Regions from separate parts of the Homo sapiens genome. Here region 2 is linked to region 1. Evidence: promoter capture Hi-C in human tissues and cell types (Jung and others, 2019). All regions are on one chromosome and are shown on one strand. The core of a region is centred on a gene start or on the middle of the fragment in contact, and the rest is flanking DNA. Distances in the headings are between cores, read along the strand shown. Region 1 has its middle 39 kb from the start of SNORA2C. Region 2 holds the start of ANP32D (acidic nuclear phosphoprotein 32 family member D).

What was found. The method cuts DNA at HindIII sites, captures the fragments that hold promoters and counts their contacts. A contact is called where the count stands out against the background at its distance.
Region 2: a contact is called between the fragment with the promoter of ANP32D here and a fragment that was not itself captured in region 1, in 1 of the 25 tissues and cell types used here (liver).

The regions. Positions count from the first base shown.
Region 1 is chr12:48,612,833-48,617,547 of GRCh38, reverse strand. No RefSeq gene overlaps it. Among named protein-coding and RNA genes, the nearest start is that of SNORA2C, 39 kb to the left of the region's middle. The HindIII fragment of the contact is 5,812 bases long and covers 1-4,715 here.
Region 2 is chr12:48,469,905-48,474,619 of GRCh38, reverse strand. It overlaps ANP32D (acidic nuclear phosphoprotein 32 family member D), which reads right to left and starts at 2,061. Exons shown (of 1, transcript NM_012404.3): 1 at 998-2,061. The coding sequence starts at 1,955. The coding sequence ends at 1,560. It also overlaps a transcript of C12orf54 not described here. The HindIII fragment of the contact is 6,491 bases long and covers 441-4,715 here.

The DNA.
Region 1 (4,715 bases), core at 1,037-3,536:
TTCAAGTGATTCTCTTGCCTCAGCCTCCCGAGTAGCTGGGACTACAGAGACACACCACCACACCCGGCTAATTTTTTGTATTTTAGTACAGACGGGGTTTCACCATGTTGGCCAGGCTGGTCTCAAATTCCTGACCTCATGAACCCGCCTCGGCCTCCCAAAGTGCTGGGATTATAGATGTGAGCTGGGATTATAGATGTGCGCCCAGCCTATTATTATGATTTTTTGAGAGACATAGTCTCACTCCGTTGCGCAGGCTGCAGTGCAGTGGTGTGATCATAGCTTACTGTAACCTCAAACTCCTGGACTCAAATAATCTTCCTGTTGCAGCCTCCTGAGTGGCTGGGACTAGAGGCATGTGCCACTATATCTGCTTAATTAAGTTTTTTTTTTTTTTGTAGAGACAAGGTCTTGCTATATTGCCCAGGCTGGTCTCAAACCCCTGGCCCCAAAAAATTCTCCTGCCTTGGCCTCCCAAAGTGCTGGGATTACAGGCATGAGCCATTGTGCCTCGCATGCAATGTGTGTTTAAATAACCCATGAGTAAAGGAAGAAATCACAAGGGAAATTAGAAAATATTTTGAACTAAATTATAATAATTACATATGAAAAATTGTGAAATGCTGCTAAATCAGTGCTTAGAAGAAACTTTATGTCTTTAAATGCTTATGTTAGAAAGATAAATATTTAAAACCAATAATTTAAGCTTCCACTTTAACAAGGTAGATCAGGAAAAGCAAGATGGACTCAGAGTAAATAGAACAGAGAAAATAACAAAGAATGGAAATCAATGAATATAAAGGAGAAAAACCAATAAAACAAAAATTAGTTTTTAAAAATTTGAAACAGGGTATTGTTCTGTCATTCAGGCTGGAGTGCAGTGATATGATCATGGCTCACTGCAGCCTCAACCTCTTGGGCTCAGGTGATCCTCCCATCTCAGCCTCCCAGGTAGCTGGAACTACAGGTATACACCACCATGCCTGGCTAATGTTTTAGATTTTTTGTAGAGTCAGGGTTTCACCATGTTGCCCAGGCTGGTCTTGGACTCCTAGGCTCAAGTGGTCTGGCCTTCCAAATTGCTGGGATTACAGGCAAAAAATTAGCTCTTTGAAAAAAATCAATAAAATTGATAAATTATCAGCTAAATTGACTTAAACCCAGACAAACACAAATTATCAATATCAATAAACAAAAGAAGAGGTATCACTACAAACCCTACAGATATTAAAAGAATTAAAAGGCAGTATTATGAACAACCTTATGCCAATACATTTGACAATTTAAATAAAATTTTTAAATTACTTGAAAGATGCTAATGACCAGAATGACATAAGAATTAATACAAATCTGAATAATCTTATATCTATAAAAGAAATTAAACTCATAATTGCTGTAGTTTGGTAGACTCAGCCATTCCAGTCTGCTGGTTTTGGAGAATATAAAGTCTGGATGAGGAAAAGTCCCTCACAAAGCAACACAGCCACCTTGCCAGACTGTGGTCAGACTGCTTCTTTAAGCGGGACCCCAGTTCATTCTTCCTCACTGGGTGCAACCTCTCTGTGGGAGCTTCAGCCACTCCAGCTAGGGTTCTACAGAAAAAGCTCTGATCTCTCCCTGGGATAGAGCCCCTGGGGGAGGTGCAGCTGCTGTCTTTGTGGTTTGGTTGACTCAGTCTTTTCCAGCCTATCGGCTTTGGAGAATACAAACAGTCTGGACAAGGAAGGGCTCCCCCCAGTGCAGCACACCTGCTCTATCAAAAAGCAGTCAGATTGCTTATTTATTTATTTATTTTTGAGACGGAGTCTCACTCTGTCCCCCAGGCTGGAGTGCAGTGGCATGATCTCGGCTCATTGCATGCTCCACCTCCCAGGTTCATGCCATTCTCCTGCCTCAGCCTCCCGAGTAGCTGGGACTACAGGCACCTGCCACCACACCTGGCTAATTTTTTTTTTTTGTTTTTTTTTAGTGGAGATGGGGTTTCACCATGTTAGCCAGGATGGTCTCGATCTCCTGACCTCGTGATCCACCTGCCTCGGCCTCCCAGGGTGTTGGATTACAGGCATGAGCCCACTGTGCCCGGCACAGATTGCTTATTTAAGTGGGTCCCTGATCCCATTCCTCCTGACTGGGTGAGACCTCCCAACAGGGGTCTCCAGACACCTCCTACCAGTGTGTTTGGGCCAGCAACAGGTCAGTACCCACCTGGGACAAAGTTTCCAGAGGAAGGAGCTGGCAGCCATCTTTGCTGTTTTGCAGCCTTCACTGGTGATACCTCCAAGTACTGGAAAAAACAAGGCAACTAGGGTCTGAAGTGGACCCCCAGCAAACCACAGAAGCCCTACAGTAGTGTAGCTTGACTGTTAAGAGAAAAACAAACAAGCAAACAAACAAACAGAAAACAACAGCAACAACATCAACAAAAAAGACCCCACAAGAAGTCTGTTCAAAGGTTAGCAACCTCAAAGATTCAAGGTTGATAAGCCCACAAAGATGAGGAAGAATCAATGCAAAGAAGCTGAAAACTCAAAAAGCCAGAGGGCCTTTTTTCCTCCAAATGACCACAACACTTTTCCAGCAAGGACACAAAACTGGGCTCAGGCTGAGATGGCTGAATTGACAGAAGTAGGCTTCAGATGATGGGTAATAATGAACCTCACTGAACTAAAAGAGCATGTTCTAACCCAATGCAAAGAAGCTAAGAATCATGATAAAACAATATAGGAGGCTGGGTGCAGTGGTTCATGCCTATAATCCCAGGACTTTGGAGGCTGAGGCAGGCAGATCATGAGGTCAGGAGTTTGAGACCAGACTGGCCAACATGATGAAAACTGTCTGTACCAAAAATACAAAAAAATTAGCTGGGCACAGTGGTGCTTGCCTGTAATCCCAGCTAATTGGGAGGCTGAGGCAGGAGAACCAGTGAACTCAGGAGGCAGTGGTTGCAGTGTGCTGAGATCAGGCCACTGCACTCCAGCCTGGGTGACAGAGCAAATCTCCACCTCTACAAAATACAAAATGAAACAATACAGGAGCTAATAGCCAGAATAGCCAGTTTAGAGCGGAACAAAACAGACCTGATGGAGCTGAAAACACAACATGAGAACATCACAATGTGTCACAAGTATCAGTAGCAGAATAGACCAAGTGGAGGAAAGAATCTCAGAGCTTCAAGACTATCTTGCTGAAATAAGACAGGCAGACAAGAATAGTAATAATCTCGGAGCTTGAAGACAATCTTTCTGAATAAGACAGGCAAAAAAGAATGAAAAGGAATGAACAAAACCTCAGAGAAATATGAGACTGTTTAAAAAGACCTAACCTATGACTGATTGGGGTACCTGAAAGAGATGGGGCAAATGGAGCCAAGTTGGAAAACATACTACAGAATATCATCCAGGAGAACTTCTGCAACCTAGCAAGACAGACCAACATTCAAATTCAGGAAATGCAGAAAACTCCAGTAAGATACTCCACGAGAAGATCAACCCCAAGACACATAATCCTCAGAGTCTCCAAGGTCTACATGAAAGAAAAAAATGTTAAGGGCAGCCAGAAAGAAAGGCTAGGTCACTTACAAAGGAAAACCCATCAGACTAACAGCAAACCTCTCAGTGGAAACCATACAAGCCAGAAGAGATTGAGGGCCAATATTCAACATTCTTAAAGAAAAGAATTTCCAACCTGGAATTTTATATCTAGCCAAGCTAAGCTTCATATGCAAAGGAGAACTAAGACCCTTTTCAGAGAAGCAAATGCTTAGGGAATTTATCACCACCAGGCCTGCCTTGCAAGAGCTCCTGAAGGAAGCACTAAATATGGAAAAGAAAACCACTACCAGCCACTATAAAAATACAGTGAAGTACACAGACCAGTGACAATATGAAGCAACCACATAAACAAGGTCTGCAAAATAACCAGCTAGCATCATGATGACAGGATCAAATTCACACATAACAACACTAACCTTAAATGTTAATGGGCTAAATGCCCCAATTAAAAGACACAGAATGGCAAACTGGATAAAGAGATAAGACCCGTTGGTATGCTGTCTTCAAGAGACACATCTCATTTGCAAAGACACACAGACTCAAAATAAAGGGATGGAGGAAAGTTTACCAAGCAAGTGGAAAGCAGAAAAAATCAGGGGTTGCAATCCTAGTTTCTAACAAAACTAATTTTAAACCAGCAAAAATAAAAAAAGACAAAGAAGGGCATTACACAGTGGTAAAGGGTTCAATTCAAAAAGAAGAGCTAATTATCCTAAACATATGTGCACCCAATATAGGAGCACCCAGATTAATAAAGCAGGTTCTTAGAGACCTATAAAGAGACTGAGACTCCCACGCAATAATAGTGGGAGATGTTAACACCCCACTGACAATATTAAACAGATCATTGAGAAAGAAAATTAACAAATATATTCAGGACATGAACTCAGCTCTGGATCAAGTGGACCTGACAGATATCTACAGCACACTCAACCACAAAACAACAGAGTATACATTCTTCTTTCTCATTGCTACACAGCACTTGCTCTGAAATTGATCACATAATTGGAAGTAAAACACTTCTCAGCAAATGCAAAAGAACTGAAATAATAACAACCTCTCAGACCACAGTGTAATCAAGTTAGAACTCAAGATTAAGAAATTCACTCAAAATTACACAACTACATGGAAATTGAACAACCTGCTCCTGAATGACTCTTGGGT
Region 2 (4,715 bases), core at 812-3,311, 140 kb after region 1:
TAGGACCCTCCGAGCCATGTGTGGGATATAATCTCCTGGTGTGCTTTTTTTAAGCCCATTGGAAAAGCGCAGTACTAGGGTGGGAGTGACCCGATTTTCCAGGTGCCATCTGTCACCCCTTTCTTGGACTAGGAAAGGGAATTCCCTGACCCCTTGCACTTCCTGGGTGAGATGATGCCTCGCCCTGCTTCGGGTCATGCACTGTGTGCTGCACCCACTGTCCTGCACCTACTGTCTGGCACTCCCCAGTGAGATGAACCCAGTACCTCAGTTGGAAATGCAGAAATCACCTGTCTTCTGTATCGCTCATGCTGGGAGCTGTAGACCAGAGCTGTTCCCATTCGGCCATCTTGGCTCCTCCACCTGGCTCCATAAAATTGTTCTAAGCACAGAAATACATGTAGAAGAATTCTCTCATCATTTTTGTAAAACAAAGCATTCTAATATTTTACAGAACAAGATAGGACAGTTTTTTTTTCTTGTAAAGAAGTTGAAGTTTGAGGGTTTGTTTCTTCACTTTTAATTATTATTACCAAATCCATTTTCCTTGTAACTCACAAGACTGCCATTTTCAGCTCTCTGGCTCTTAAGCTCTCAAGAGTAACATCTGAGTCCTCTTTGTAGAAGGAAGCCCACCACGATCTGTGAAGGGGGAAAAGGGATGAGAGATGGGGAATGTCCCCAAACCAGTGCCAAAATACACCTTTAGGTTGCTATTTACAAACCAGGGTGTTGGATGCCTCTAGCAGTTCCGCGAAAAGCATGTGAATCAAAGCAAAAGCTATGGCTGGTGCTCAGACCCTTCTGGGTGTTGAGTAACCAAACTGAGACCAGCCGCGGACTTCCACCCAACCTGAGACTTGGAAAATACCAGGAAACATAAGAGAACTCCAAACCATCTTCTTTGAGAGCCAGGAACAAATGCTTAGTGTGTACTTAACTATTGCATTTACAGGGACAAAAACTGGACACAAGGAAAAAGTAGGGGGAAAAAATAAAGAGTGGCAGTAAAAATAGTATTTTATTCCACCCCCTCCTCCCCTCCCTTCCCTCACAACCCCCAGTACACTTTTCCTCTCTTGCTCCCACAGCAACGTTACAATCAGAAAAAAATAAGTTTCAGGGGGCAGGATTGGAGTGGGGGAGGGGATACGGCTAAAAACAGTAAAATCACAAAAGGAATTTTTCAAAATAGATTATTCCACTTAGGCATCGTCTTCTCCCTCATCTTCAGTTTCTTATTTTCGCTTCTGACCCCTTTCTTCTTCACCAAGCTCTTCTTCATCTTCCTCATCATCTACCTCTCCATTGTTATAACCTTCATCCTTCTCCTCCTCGTCTCCACTCACGTCCTCCTCTTCACGTTCCTCCTCCTCATCCTCGTCCTCCTCATCTTCCATTACCTGAGCATCTTCATCATACTCCTCCTCATCCTCATCCTCCTCCTTGTCATCCAGGCACTCCACAAAGCCCTCACCATCCGAGTTAGGGGCCTCCTTGTCATCCGGGTCACAGCCGTTGAGATATGTGAGTTGCAGGAGGAGCTTGAACATCTTTTCTCAGTAGTTGTTCAGGTTGGTTACCTCGCAAGTGAAAAGGTCTAAGCTCTCGAGGTTTTCTAACTTTTTCAGGGGCTCTATTGTGCTGAGGTCTTTAATTTTGTTGCCACTTAAATTTAGATGTATGAGGTTTGGACACTTTTCTGCCAATACTTCTAGGCCCACTGAGGCTCTGTTACTGCTTAGTTCAAGCTTCTTAAGTTTGTTTAACTTTGGCAAGTTTGCAATTGAGGTGAGGCCTATGTTGATTGTATTTAATAATTCCAGTTCTTCAAATTCATCTGTGAGGCCTTCCAATTTGCCTTCATTTGACTGACTGTTGTCCAGGAAAAGTTCTTTCACATCGGAGGGCGTCCTGTTCCGCAGCTCTAAATGAATCCATTTGCCCATCTCCATCTCTCACGCTTTCTCTGCAGAGGCTCCTGAGCCAGCGGAATTCAACCAATAAACCCCGAACCCACAACCGCACATTTGAAAGCTCAACCAGCTCTGCTGGGTTCTCCGAAAGTAAATTCTTAATTCCAAACACACCCAAAATCTATTATCTCCCATCACATTAAATTGTGCTATCATTCACCCAGTTGCTCCAAAACCTTAGAATAATGACTACTTCCTCTATTTTTCTATTTTACATCAGATAGATGTATTGGCTGTACCTTTACAGTGTATCCTAAATCTGATCACTTCTCATCATCTCTAGGCCACGCCATAGTATATATCTCACGGACTGTTGTCAAAGCCTCCTAACTAGATCATTCTTATCTTCCTGCAGCAGCCAGAATGCTCATTTTAAAATGCAGAAAACCCTAAAGACTCTGCCAAAAGGTTAATAGAGCTGATAAACAGTTTTAGTAAGATTTCAGGATACAAAATCAATATACAAAACTAGTAGCATTTCTATACACCAATAGTATTCAAGCTGAGAATAAATCAAGAACACAACCCCATTTACAATAGCCACAAAGAAAATGAAATACCTAGGAATACAGCTAACCAAGGAGAGGTGAAAAATTTCTACAAGGAGAACTACAAATCACTGCTCAAAGAAACCAGAGATGGCACAAATAAGTGGAAAAACATCCCATGTTCATGAATTGTAAGATCAATATTATTAAAACGGTCATATTCCCCAAAGTGGCTTACAGATTCAACACTATTTCTATCAAATTACCAATGTCATCCATCACAGAATTAGAAAAAAACTACTCTGAATTCACGTGGAACCAAAAAATAGCCTGAATAGCAAAAGTAGCCCCAAGTAAAAAGAACAAAGCCAGAGACATCACACTACCTGACTTCAAACTATCCTATAAAGCTATAGTAACCAAAACAGCATGGTATCGACACAAAAACAGACACATAGACAAATGGAACAGAATAGAAACTTCTGAAATAAAGCCTTACACTTAAAAATATCTGATCTTTGACAAGACCAAGAAAAACAAGCAATGGGGAAAGGACTTTCTTTTCAATAAATGGTGCTGGGATAACTGGCTAGCCATATGCAGAAGAATGAAACCAGACCCTTACCTTTCACCATACATAAAAACTAACTGAAGATGGATTAAAGTTTTAAATGCAAGACTTCAACCTATAAAAATCCTAGAAAATATGCCCCAAAGAAAGGAAATTAGTATATAGAAGAGATATCTGCACTCCTATGTTGGTTCCAGCACTGTTTACTAAGATTTGGAAGCAACCTAAATGTCCATCAGCAGATGGATGGATAAAGAAAATGTGGTGCATATACACAATGGAGTACTCGTCAGCCATAAAAATAATGAGATCCAGTCACTTGCAACAACATGAATGGAACTGGAGTTTATTATGTTAAGTGAAATAAGCCAGGCACAGAAAGACAAACATTGCATGTTCTCACTTATTTGTGGGATCTAAAAATCAAAACAATAGAACTCATGGAGGAGGGGCTGGGAAGTGTAGTGGGGGCTGTTGGGGGGAGATGAGGATGGTTAATGGGTACAAAAAAATAAAAAGAATGAATAAGACCTACTATTTGATAGCACAACAGGGTGACTATAATAAAAATAACTTAATTGTACATTTAAAAATAATTTAAAGAGTGTAATTGCATTATTTGTAACTTGAAAGATAAATGCTTCTGGGGATGGATACTCCATTATCCATGATGTGCTTATTTCACATTGCATGCCTGTATCAAAACATCCCATGTACGCCATAAGTATATATATCTAATATGCACCCACAAAATTTTAAAAAATTAAAAAAGAATAAATAAACATAAAAATTGAAAACAAATTCTAGAAGAAAACCTAGGAAATGCCCTTGTTGACATCAACCTTGGCAAAGAATTTTTGGCTAAGTCCCCAAAAGCAATTGCAACAAAAACAAAAAAAAATGGACCAGTGGGACCTAATTAAACTAAAGAGATTCTGCACAGCCAAAGAAGCCATCAGTAAACAGACTACCTACAGAATGGGAGAAAATATTTGCAAACTATGCATCTGACAAAGATCTAATATCAAGACTCTATAAGGAACTTAAATCAACAAGCAAAAAGCTACCCCATGAAAAATGGGCAAAGGACATGAACAGACACTTCTCGAAAGAACACACACAAGTAAACATATGAGAAAATGCTCATCAGAGAAATGCAGATCAAAATCACAATGAGATACCATCTTCCACCAGTTGGAATGGCTATTACCAAAAAGTAAAAAAATAACAGATGTTGGTGAGGCTGCGGAGAAAAGACAACACTTCTACATTGTTGGTGGGAATGTAAATTAGTTCAGCCACTGTGGAAAGCAGTTTGGAGATTTCTCAAAGAACTTAAAACAGAAATACATTTGATCCACCAGTTCCATTACTGGGTATCTACCCAAAGGAAAATAAATCATTCTACCAAAAAGAAACATGCATGCATATGTTCATCGCTGCACTATTCAGAGTAGTAAAGACATGGAATCAACCTAGGTGCTCATCAATGGTTAGACTGGATAAAGAAAATGTGGTACATAGACACCATGGAATAGCATGTAGCCATAAAAATGAATAAAGTCATGTCCTTTGCAGCAACGTGGTTGGAGATGGAGGCCATAATCCTAAGGAAATTAATGCAGGAACAGAAAATCAAATACTTCATGTTCTCACCTGTGGGAGTGAAACTTTGGGCAT